Regions from separate parts of the Homo sapiens genome. Here all the other regions are linked to region 2. The links are contacts of gene promoters, found by promoter capture Hi-C in human tissues and cell types (Jung and others, 2019). All regions are on one chromosome and are shown on one strand. Each heading gives the region's core, a stretch centred on a gene start or on the middle of the fragment in contact. The rest is flanking DNA. Distances are from core to core; before and after follow the strand shown.

Region 1 (4,191 bases), core at 808-3,307, 1.2 Mb before region 2:
ACACATATACATATATACACATACATATACACATACATATATACACATATATACATATATACACATATACATATATACACATATATACACACATATATATACACATATATACACACATATACACATATATACACACATATATACACACACACACACACATATATATATATACACACACACACTACGTGTATAGAATAAAGAGAAAAACATGAGGAACGGCACTTTACCCAACCAATAGCACCTGCTGCAAAACAAAATCTAGTAAGGTAAGACACAGAAAAAGACCCACCAGAGCGCCATTCAGTTTTCAATGCTTCAAAGATTTACACACTCTTCCTATTATCATTAATGGCTATTATGAACATAATCTGTCCCCATGCACCAAGGGGAGAATAAATTCCTCACAGAGGGGAAATAGAGGGTATTCAAAGAAAAAAAATATTTTATGCAGAAAGCTGATGCCTGCTAGTTGATAATGAATGCAGTAGGAGTAATAGTAATTTGTTTAAATTCCTCATTAAATGAGTCATAAAGGTCATGGGGCAATACTAGAAACACACACACACACACACACACACACACACACACACACACACACACACAGCATCTCTGAATTATCCAGCAAAGCAACAATGTTAAAAATGTCTTTTTAAAAAAATTAGAGCTAATTAAATTAAAAATAAAAATCAGGATTAAACTAAAAATAAAAGGGAGCTGGAATTCCAATAACTTTAAATTATATAGATCATATAAAAGCAGAAAAGTAGAAGAATGGATCAAACAAGAAAACCCCTCTGTGACAGTCCATGCTGCCCCAAGTCACTAAATCTGCAGATGACAGAAACAAAATAGAGAGATACATCTTGTGCACAGGAAAAAAGCAAGCATATTCCTAAGTGACTAGAATACATGAGTCTGGTGGGTTGATAAGTGACTTATACAGATCAAATAGGTGTTAGATAATGAGGCAAGGGAGCAAAAATATTCTTAGAGGGTAAAAGCTCACAAGTCAGCAGTATAGAGGCATTCTCAAGAGCAGAATCATTGCATATTTTAACGCCTTCTTGGCTAATAAGAATAAAACAGGCAGGCAAAGTGGAAATATGGGACTCAGAACATAATTTCTACTTCCCTGGGAGCAGCATTTCTTAGGGTGATTGGGAGGTTTTTGCTCCTCATCAGATCTTTATTAATCCATTGTCATGTCTCTGTGTTTTATTATTCCTGCCAGGGTAACAGATTCTATTCATGCTTTCAGGTCATAAAGTGTACCAGCTAACTCAGGGGACTGAAAACAAAATTAAGAATGAGGTATGGCACGTTCCTTTTCTTCTCAGAGCCTCGGCTTTTTCCCCTGAAAATGAGGCTAATAGACACTATCCCCTAGGGCGGTTATGTGAGAGAATAGACACTTGTTGTATATCCCCCAAAGGTGATAAAAATGGTGTAAGTCTCCCCGTATCACGTTGAGCCCATGGTGAACACTCAGTAAACATGGACTGCTATTATCATTGCACTGGAAGGCTTCCCACCATCGAGAGTCATTAAATCCAGGAGATTGGGAGCTGTTTTCCTCTGGAGCATTTTATTTTTGTTCAAAAGAAATACAGCACAGATTTGGCCAAATCCGCAGACAAATTGTCAAGGCCAGGAATAAAGTCTGTTTAGTACACTCTGAATATAGCACCTAACACACAATTATAAATATAGAGTGCTTAATGGGGAGTATTTGATTTAAAAAATGGTAAAATCTATTGCCAAGATTAAATGAGATGACCTCTTTGGAGTCCTTCCACTAGAGGCAATAAAGAATAAAAATGAACATTAAATATGTATGTGCTCTCTATCTCAAACCCATCTGGCCTATGATATCAATACTGGGCCAGAGCAACAAATATGTGCATCTTCATATTTCTAAACTTCAAAAAATGGCCCATGCAGTACAAAACCCAAGAGCATTAAAAATGGCCTTTGACTCTGCTTGTGATGCACCACCCGTAGCCACCATACCCAGAGGTGAACTGTAGATCAAAAAGAATTACTATGGTGCCAAAGAGACTCCCATAAAATTGCACTACGCTATTATACCATTTTGGTTGCCTTTGGGAAATATGTAAGTCAAAAGTATCTAACCATGGGTAAATAAAGTCAGTTTGCACTTAAGAAAATAGAAAAGCTGATGGAAGAATTAAGTTTGCTTATTTAAGTAGCCTTTTATGTAAAAGGGTTAAGAACACTACTTCCACCTTCTGCCAATGAGCTATGTTCTTCTGAAAATTGGAGCAGTATACTAACTCTGATGTGACAAAATTTGAAAATGCTAATGGGGCAAGGTTCTGTAAACTCTGTCTCTATACCTTATTATATCTTGCTATTGTATAGTGGACATCGTTCAATAAGAAGTAAAGTAAATATAAAGGGCAACAAATCAAAGATTGTATTCTCACAGAGGAGTGGCTCTGGATGAGTGGCAATCCCAAGGCATAAACATCTCTTCTACATTCCAATGCTCTAAGAATGGAAGACCGATCTCCAAAGATCAAAATGACCATTGTTGTTTAAAAACTACCATTTGCTTAGAATAAAAAACAAACTGTCCTGAAATAAGCTTGCCATCTATATCATCTTATATCCAGGAGGACAATAAGCCAAGAAAGATAAAACAGAGAAAAAGCAGTTGAATTAGTTGAATTACAGTATATTTCATCATAGAATGATAGTGTACCCTTAAAAAAAAAAATCCAGTACAGTTCAAAGAGAACATCATTTCTAAACATTACAGGCAAAAAGAAAGGTTTTTTAAATTTCATTTTGTGTTCAAGTTTACTGCAAATTACATACGACAATACAGTTCTTAAATAGTACAAAATGAAGCTCCAACTTCAATTTTGGTGCTGTGGTTTTTATATTTGTGTAGTTGTTAAAATAAGATGGAATGTTGGCATAACTATCAGACAGCAGAAAACAAGCTGCTGAATGAGGAGGAAAGAACCAAAGAAACAGTGGAGAAGGGAATTGTAGTTTGAATGGAATTTTGGTGCAAATGGTGGCGATCTGTTGTACAGTCTGCATTAATTGGGTTATTTCTGAATGAACATTTGATTATTATAACAGAACATTCTATGTATAATCTCGTAAAACTGTAAATTCCTGGCAGAGTCACTTTGAAAGTATGAGGCTGACAAGCCCTTCTTTTGAAAAACTGAGAACTATTTGCATGAGAATTATCACTCTGAAGCAAGCAAATTCCAGTGCTGTTGACTCACTGCCTCAGCCACCTACACTGGGGCTCCCAGGCAGAATGGGTTCCAACCCACTGTACGTGGGGATTCCAGGACCCACCAGTTCACGGGAGTCACATGAGAAATAACAACAGGAAGAAACTTTGCTGCCAAATAAAAAGAGACCAAATCAACAGAAAAACAGTAAGGACATTTTGTTTTATGGTTTAATTGGATTTTTAAATTATTATGCCCTAGGATCTATCTGAAACATAGACTCAAACAAATGAAGAAAGGACTTTTAGGAACTTGAAAAACCATGTATACTTATTATGGCAAGTATGTGCCTCTCAAGTTCAACATGTCAAACACATGATTTTATCCTGTTGGAACAAAAACAGAAAAAGGAGGTAGAAGTCTTCATACAGAACTCTCAGCCCCTCATTAAGAAGTTGGAAATTGTATTTAGCTGTACAGAACAGAGGAATACATGACTGCTAATTTTCTAACTCATTCATTTTTGTTAAGTTCTAATAAGGCAACTGGATTTTTCTACTTGCTAGGCATCAAGCATCATTTTGAAATATTAATAAATCCTTAGAAAGCAGAAACCATGTCTGAATGACTCAGTATACATTGTCCGTTGTGGCATCACTTACAAAAGGTTACTGAGATTGACGAAGTAATAAATGATGAGTTCAGCTGGGCGCTGTGGCTCTCACCTGTAATCCTAACACTCTGGGAGGCTGAGACAGGTGGATCACTAGAGCCTAGGAGTTTGAGACGAGCCTAGGCAACACAGGGAGACGCGGTCTCTACAAAAAATTAGCTGGGCATGGTGGCGTGTACCTGTAGTCCCAGGTACTCAGGAGGCTGAGGTGAGAGGATCACCTGAGCCCAGGAAGTCCAGGCTGCAGTGAGCTGAGATTGCACTACTGCATTCCAACCTGGGCAACAGAGCAAGACCCTG
Region 2 (4,183 bases), core at 387-2,886:
CACTTAAAAATTAGAATAAAAAACCAACTGCATAACTAGTATCCTCATAATCAGTACACAGGACTCTCATTATAATATTCAATATATGGTACAATCTATTTAAGAAAATGGTCATTATTTTACATTTAAAGTTACTATTCAAGGTATTTTAATAGAAAAGTGGTAATCAGGGGAATGAATCTCACATGTAATCTTTACTACAATGTTTTCTTTCAAGACTGCTATCATACCACAGAAAACAATCTACATTATAGGAAAATCACGTCTAAGTAACTCCCTAGCACTAAAAATAATAAACCTCTCGACCTAACCTCCCACCTGAGTTTGTTTCCACTGACAGCAGCTCATCAGTACTTCAAATGCAACACCTTCAACACCACATTCAAGACTCCTCTTTCAGACTGACTTTCCATTTTTCACACTTTCTATATTAAAAGGCCCCCTAACATAAACAGGTATTTGTTGTTTTCTAAAAATTATAATATATGGAAAAATCTTTCTCAAGCCTGGCTCCGCATTCTTCTGTTAACATTAAGGATACCCTAATACTCCAACGCAGCCAGTTGAAATTTTTGCTATCTCTGACTACCCTACCATTATCCCATGACGTCACATCCCTTTAATTCTACCTGTGCAATTTTTCTCCTCCATTCAGCTGGTCCTTCCCATCTTCACTGCTACTAACCTGCTTCAGCACTGTACTTAACCAAACTGCCTTCTGAGTGTTACGCATGGAATTTATGCAGCGGAATTAGGTTTTCATAATAAAGTTCTCGGAGGATAAATACCAAAACCAAGTATGCCACAATTCCCTTTTTTCCTGGCTAACTTCAACCAGTGGTCCTCCTTCAGATTTCGTCAGACTTTTCCAGAAACGATATCCTGAGTCTCCCCTATAATGGTTAGGTGTCCCTATTTGCTATCCCAGCAAGTACTCATTCATGTTGGCTGAATAGTGTACTCTGTTTACCTACACTATCTCAGCTATTACTTCACTACATAGCACTTGAATTGTCTACTTTCTGGAACTACACGCTCCGTGATGGCAGGACTGTCTCACTTGGGGTTTACAACCAGTACTGGCACGCTGTTTTTCGAGTTTTTCAGTAATGAACTAAAGAATAAATGAAGGAAAACAAATGAGACTATCAAATAAATCTTGGGAGGCAAAAGATAAAAACCTGGGTAAACTGACAGGAGATGATGACAAGAGGAATGAGGCGCGGCGTGTAGTAGAGCACAGCGACCAGGTTTGTAATCGTAGCTCTGTTTTCACGCACACTATGACCTTGGGCAAGTCATCTTTTCTTTCTGGGATTTCTCTTTCCTCAGATTTAAAGCAATAGCTTCTAAGACCCAGCAGGTGGTAACATCGACCCCAGGAAGTCGGAGGATGTACAGGACGGGGCACGGGGTTGCCTGAGGACCTACCGGGCCAACAGCGCTGAACTGCGGTACCTGACTGTTCCGTGCCGAACAGTGAGTAGCATAATCGCAGCCGCTGATGTCTCCGGGCTTCCAGAGGACAAAGGGTGGCGGGAAAGGGGGCGAAGAGGTAGGAACGTCGAGACTCTAGGAAACATCGCCGAGACACGAAATGAACCAAGAACACAACTGAAATGGTGCGTCCCGCTGCCAAACACGTCCCCGCCCTCTCTTCCGCTTCCGGCCTGGCGCCTTCCTCCCCCTTTGCGCTCCGGTGGGCTACAGGGGCGGGTAACTGTGTTCCGGACTCGCCCGCGGCCGGGCGGAGCCAGTTGCCTCCAAGCGACCCGACCCACCCCGCGATTGTAGTCCTAGAGGCGGAGTCCTCGCCAGAGTTCAGCAAAGGTTCGCTGGCCGAGGCGGGTCCCAGACCGGCGAACCCGACAGTGGAGGGCGTGACCAGTTGTGCAAAAACTACAGATGGTGCCAGTGAGATCAGTCTCTTCTTTAACAGACAATATTTTGCGATGTTTGGAGGGGAAGGGTCTACAGCGTTCACCACGTTCTCAAAATGCGCCATGGCCACCAAAGAGGTTTAAAAAAAATTACTAAAAGACCTGCTGCCCTATGAATTAGCGTTTCCTTTCAGTCTTTATTTTTGATGTAGAGTCAAAATGAGACATAGGTTTCATTTTTCAAAAATAGCTTTATGGCCGGGCACGGTGGCTCACGCCTGTAATCCCAGCACTTTGGGAGGCCGAGGCGGGTGGGTCACTTGAGGTCACGGGTGCGAGACCAGCCTGGCCAACATGGTGAAACCCCATCTCTACTAAAAAAAAAAAAAAAAAAAAAAAATACAAACACACACACACACACACACACACAATTAGCCGGCCGTGGTGGCGGGCGCCTGTAATCCCAGCTACTGGGGAGGCTGAGGCAGGAGAAGCGCTTGAACTCGGGAGGTGGGGGCTGCAGTGAGCCGAGATCGCGCCATTGCACTCCAGCTTGGGCTACAGGGCGAGATTCTTTGTCTCAAAAAAACAAAAAAGAAAAGAAAAAAAGATTTACGCCGGGGGCACAGTGGCTCATACCTGTAATCCCAGTACTTACGGAAGCCGAGGCGGGCAGATCACTTGAGGCCAGGGGTGAAGACCAGCCTGGTCAACATAGTGAAACCCTGACTCTACTAAAAATGCAAAAATTAACCTGGCGTGGTGGCGAGTGCCTATAATCCCAGCTACTCGGGAGGCTGAGGCAGGAGAATAGCTTGAACCCGGGAGGCGGAAGCTGCAGTGAGCCAAGATTGTGCCACTGCACTCCAGCCTGGGCAACAGAGTGAGACCCCGTCTCAAAAAAAAAAAAGGATGAAAAGATGCAAGAGAGAGACTTGGCTTTTACCTGTCCCTCATGAAACAGGGAACTGTGACCCCAGAAGAGATGTGGGGTTCCCAAACTTGGAAGGGGATGAGAATAAATCTGGTGGGAAATGTTGGCTAATAGGACACATGGGAACCACTAGCCTAAAATTCCATAAAGGCATTCCAAAGTTTACATCAACATTTTCCCTGTCCTCTCAAAAAATAATCAAGGTGGGGAGGTGAGTTTTTGTGATACTAAAACACAGCTTACATTGAGCAGATCTTCCTGAGATCCACTAACACTAACAGAACCTTTGTGACTGAATGCTCTACACAGTACACTTGGGGATGCTTACTTTGTCTGATTTGTAAAAAAACAAACAAAAATTAAAGCATAACTTTGTCAAAAAACAAAATTATGGCAAATTTAGCATAATTGGTTTTTATTTGTGATTCTAGAATAGTGTTCCAGTGAGTTGAGCAGAGGGGTTTGGCTTTACAAGCACAAAAGAGTTGAAGAAAATAGAAACAGGGAACAAAAATCAGATTGGTCATTTCAAAGTTACCTTCCTTATAGGGTTAAAACAGAGGGATTCCTTGTCATGCTGGCTCAGGTAAACTAGGGCCCCTCTGATTGGTGCTGTGAATCTCCTGCTTTTGGAAAACTGGCCCTGATTTCAAAGTTCAGTTTGATTACTTGGCACTTAGCACAAGTGACTATTCTGGTTTGCTCTGGTGTGCTGGGGGCTAGTACAGGAAGCTTGTCCAAAACTACGGCCTCCTATAAACTTTAGCAACTTCAATACAGAAAAGTGTATGAATTATAAATATGTTGATGAAAATGTATCTTTGTTATTGTTGAGATGGAGTCTTGCTCTGTCACCGAGGCTGGAGTGCAGTGGTGCTATCTCAGCTCACTGCAACCTCCACCTCCCAGGTTCAAGCAATCCTCCTGCCCTAGCCTCCCGAGTAGCTGGGAGTACAGGCGTGCACCACCACCCCCAGCTAATTTTGGCATTTTTAGCAGAGACAGATTTCACTATGTTGGCCAGGCTAGTCTCGAACTCTTGATTTCAGGTGATCTTCCCATCTTGGCCTCCCAAAGTGCTGGGATTACAAGCATTAGCCACCGTGCCTGACCAAAAATGTGTTTAAGGAATGATCACAGAGTTAATTCACCCATATAAACCTCCACCTGGATCAAGAAATAGAATATTAGCAGTACAGCATACTTTCCTTGATATCACTTGATACCCAGTGGAAAATCCATTCTTGAGTATAATAAGCAGTCCATGTGGATCACATTTAATAGTTACCTCATCTTTTTTCGATTTCTTATAATATCCTTCAAATGGGTTTTTTAAAACCCTAAAATCTCTTAACAAAGAAGATGAAAA
Region 3 (4,063 bases), core at 253-2,752, 1.4 Mb before region 2:
CATTTTAATCCAATTTAACATACTTGTATTATGCAATATTTTATGCCAATTCTTCAGAGCCTGTGGTCAAATAATAACTATGAAATGTATCCACATTGATATGTACTCAGGAAAATATCCTAATCTTTAAAGTAGGAAAATAAGATTAAAATATTCGTAAATTATGTTCTTATTTAAATGTCAAACCCGAAACTACTCAGGATTTTTTTTTTTTTTTTTTAGGAATTGGGGGTAGGGGGGGTGGGTCTCACTATGTTGCCCAGGCTGGCCTCAACCTCTCTGCTCAAGAGATCCTCCTGCCTCAACCTCCTGTGTATCTGGGACTACAGGCGTGTGTCATCACAACCGACTAGTTTTTTTTTTTTTTTTCTTTAAGTAAGTTTTAAATGAATTTTTCTGTTGTGTTGCTGTCTTTAATAAGTGAACATATGTTTGCATTTGCACAAGTGTATTAAACTCTAACATGCATATTGACAAGTGTACATATAAGGTCAGAGCTCAAGGAATTTTCATAAGCTGAAGACACCATGTAAACTTTACAAACATTAAAAAGAATCAACCAGCACCCCAGTAGCCTTCCTTCTATTCCTTTTTAATCACCACCCCTTCCCAAGGGTTATCCTACCTCCTGACAAAATAGATTGGTTTTGCCTCTCTTTGTACTTAAATAAATGGAATCATAAATTATGGACTCTTTTGCTATGGCTTCTTTGACTCAAATTTATGTTTACGAGACTCATCCATAGTGATGAGTATAATTAGAATTGGTTTATTTTCATTGCTGCATAGCATTTCATTATGTGAATATACCACAATTTATCCACTCTACTGTTCATAGGCATTTGGACAATTTCCAGTGTTTGATTGCTCAAAAAAATAATTCTGGGAACATTCTCATATGCCGTTTCATTCACATATCTATACATTTTTGTATGGACTATATGGAGGGGTGAAATTGCCAGATCACAGGGTATAAAAGCATTTAGAAAGATATTACCTATTTGGAAATCAAGCTCAATAAATAATGTTATGAGTTAGTAGTAGCACAAACCAAATGAGAAATGCTTAATAAAATAAGCATTAGCTGTGAGAATATGTGTCAACATTCACACAACATCTTCCTAATTCCATCTTCCATCTTCCTCTTTCCAGTATCAGATTTTAGCCACAGTTCATTAGAAGCTTATCTTGTCATTTTTCAGGAAATTTATTTTATAATACCACATTATGCTTCAGGGCATGTGTTTCAGGACAACTGAGGGAGTCTTCATGGTGGATTTGGGCTGGAGTTGAGGTAGAGCAAGGGCCCCTGCATTTGGTGTTATCAGTCTTCTGGGACTTTCTTGGGGTACTGTTTTCACTTCTTCTTCTTATTTCTAGTTTAGTAAATTTCACATATAATGCTTCAAGCTGCTGTGGGCTTATTTTTTTTGCCATTTGTGTTAAAACATGCTATGAAATTCTTGCTTACAAAACTTGGATAGAAGGCATGATAACACCAATTATTTGTCTTATCTCTGCCCAACCACCTAAATGATATAATTACTGGCAACTGAGGTTTTTTCCTATGCCTGTTGGCATTTAGACCCCTAAGAGTATTATACAGGCTAGGGTAAATTAACCTGAGAGAAAATAGCATGGTAACTTATTTCAAAACACAAATCATTTTTACTAGAACCAGGCCAAATCAATGTCTTTGAGAAGCTACAGGGTCTTGAGTCAAATTACTGGGGGTGGACATGGTACTTTTTCCTAAACACACAATGAAAAGGATCACTCTGATTATAAAGTCTGAGTTTCCCTTTCTAACCCGTCTGTGGCACATGACCAGTTTATTTGGTGGAAAACACATTCCTCAGACCCCAGGACAGGCCAACTTGTCCTAGTTTAACTTGTGCTGTGCTTTTTTGTAATAGCAACCTAAGACGGAAACATCTGGAAAAATACCATGACTGAGCTGGTGGGATCAAAGACCAAAGTGAAATGCTCTATTGTTAATTTCCAGGAACTGACACAGAACGCAGAGTGAAATAACTCAGCTGGGCATGAATCCCGTTGGATTTCTGAAAAGCTTGCATACTACTATATTGCCTCAGCCGATAACTGAAGGAAAAGTAGTTCAGCAAAGTTGAGGAAAAACAAATTTTTGTGCATGTGTATGCACATGCATGTGTATGCATACGCACATGTGGAAGAACTCAGGTCTGTGTTCAACATGTTAATAGTGTATTCCTCTGCTGGCAAAGACAGCTTGCCATAAAAATACTGAAAAAAAAAAAAACAAAAAACAAAAGCAAGCTGAAGAAACACTTAAGTCCTTCATGAATTGAAATTAAGAACTGTGCTTGCAAAGAAGCATCCCGGTGCCCCACCAGACTGAACTCCAGGGGGCAGTGGCTTTCTGGCATATCTTTGCTCCCCTTGGCAGCTGGGGCAGTGTCTGGCTCATAGTTTTGCAGTAACCGAAGGTGTACTGGATGAAGGATTAATAAATGCATAAATGAATGGGAGAATAAATACAACAAGCAGCAAAGCTTCATAGTCTCAGTGCTGAATTCAAAGTGAGAAGTCTAAACCTTGACACTTTTCAAGCCTTTCTCATTTGCAGCCAGTTTGCCTCCTTGAACTTTGTTCAATACATTACGAAGAAAGAAAGAAAACAATACTTACCTACCTTGAGTAGACATTTGATGCTTAGATATTTGCAGAATCAGGACTAGAAAGGTCCTTCAGACATCACCCCTAGATTCTCTGTCCATAGCAAGTGTATAATGACAGAATGGATGTGAAATGAAGAAATGTCCAAGAAATGAGATTATGCAGTCTCCTTGGGTAACGACTGAAGTTAGAGTACTGAGCAAATGTAAATTGCAACAGAAATGGTAAAGAAAATTAATATGAACTGACGTCTTTGATGAGAGTAAGAGTAGTAAGACTATGTGGGGAAAAATAATCTGAACAATTTGAATCAGGTTCTATTGACTCAATGATCAAGCCCTAGAATATAAACCCAAGGAGGGCTGATATGTTTATCTGTTTTGTTCATTAATGTATCCCAAGGGTTGAGAACAATGCCAGACATATTACAGATGCTTAGCACATGTTTGTTGAATGAATGAACCTTAATATGTTAAAAAAAAAAAAGAGGAGGCATGAAACTCCATTATATTAGGCCAATTCATTCTCCAGTTCATTTACTCTATGTTTTCCCCAACTGTGGTGCCACACAATGATACTTTTGATCATACAGTTTAAAGGACAAAAAGGTAGAGAATAAAATGCCTTTTCCCTTCCCCTACCTTGAGCTCCTTTTCCATACAACCTCTGAATATTTGGGCAATAAAGTCAAAAGTCTGCAGCTGGAGAACAGTGGTATCAGTTTCATGTACTTAATGTGTGAATGCAGTATGTAATTGCAAGAGAAAAGAGAAAGTGCTAGCTTTCTCTCTTTTACAGTTTGTGTGAACATAAATCAAATACAGGAAAGTTATAAAGTCATTGTGCAGTTTTTTAAACATTTATAATTCTGATGTCAGAGGTGGTAGAAAAAATTTGTAAATGGCATGCAAATCAAATTTTCCTCCTAAAGTTGTTAAAACCTGAGTTCTGCTAGTCCCAGCACCTATTTTTATCTTCTTGTCTACCATAGGCATATGAACATTTGTCACAGGTACTTGAATAATGAATACATCTTGTACAATCACATAAGGGTTTTCTTCTTAAACATGAACATGTTTTTGTTTTAAAATGTCATCTGCAGATTTCTTCTAGCCTGCCGATACATTTAGGTTATTCCAAGTTTAGAAGAGCCCGAAGGTGTAGGGAGACTCCTCTTAACTCCAGGAAGAAACAAAGGTGGGATAGGCCAAGTTGCTTTTATTACACTTCTTACCAGTGTCCAGTGTCTTTTCTCTTCTTTGGAATCATCCTGCCTTATTCATATCCCTCTTGAAACAGGACAGGACTGGACTCTACCAAAAAGACTAACTACCCAAGCTTTTTCCCAAAGGCACTGTTGGTTAACAGACATGTTGCAGAAGAATCTGTGTGAAGCCCTCAACTG

Evidence for each region. The method cuts DNA at HindIII sites, captures the fragments that hold promoters and counts their contacts. A contact is called where the count stands out against the background at its distance.
Region 1: a fragment that was not itself captured here is called in contact with the fragment with the promoter of MRPS31 in region 2 in 1 of the 25 tissues and cell types used here (dorsolateral prefrontal cortex).
Region 3: a fragment that was not itself captured here is called in contact with the fragment with the promoter of MRPS31 in region 2 in 1 of the 25 tissues and cell types used here (dorsolateral prefrontal cortex).

Annotation. Positions count from the first base shown.
Region 1 is chr13:39,562,538-39,566,728 of GRCh38, forward strand. The region is part of intron 2 of LHFPL6 (LHFPL tetraspan subfamily member 6); the gene reads right to left. Among named protein-coding and RNA genes, the nearest start is that of LHFPL6, 39 kb to the right of the region's middle. RefSeq lists enhancers at 946-1,446, 1,447-1,947, 2,500-3,699. The HindIII fragment of the contact is 6,061 bases long and covers 1-4,191 here.
Region 2 is chr13:40,769,554-40,773,736 of GRCh38, forward strand. MRPS31 (mitochondrial ribosomal protein S31) reads right to left here and starts at 1,637. Exons shown (of 7, transcript NM_005830.4): 1 at 1,432-1,637. The coding sequence starts at 1,583. RefSeq lists an enhancer at 1,526-1,695. The HindIII fragment of the contact is 6,562 bases long and covers 1-4,183 here.
Region 3 is chr13:39,413,233-39,417,295 of GRCh38, forward strand. All of the region lies in intron 2 of LHFPL6 (LHFPL tetraspan subfamily member 6), which reads right to left. Among named protein-coding and RNA genes, the nearest start is that of LHFPL6, 190 kb to the right of the region's middle. RefSeq lists an enhancer at 3,811-4,063. The HindIII fragment of the contact is 3,525 bases long and covers 1-3,265 here.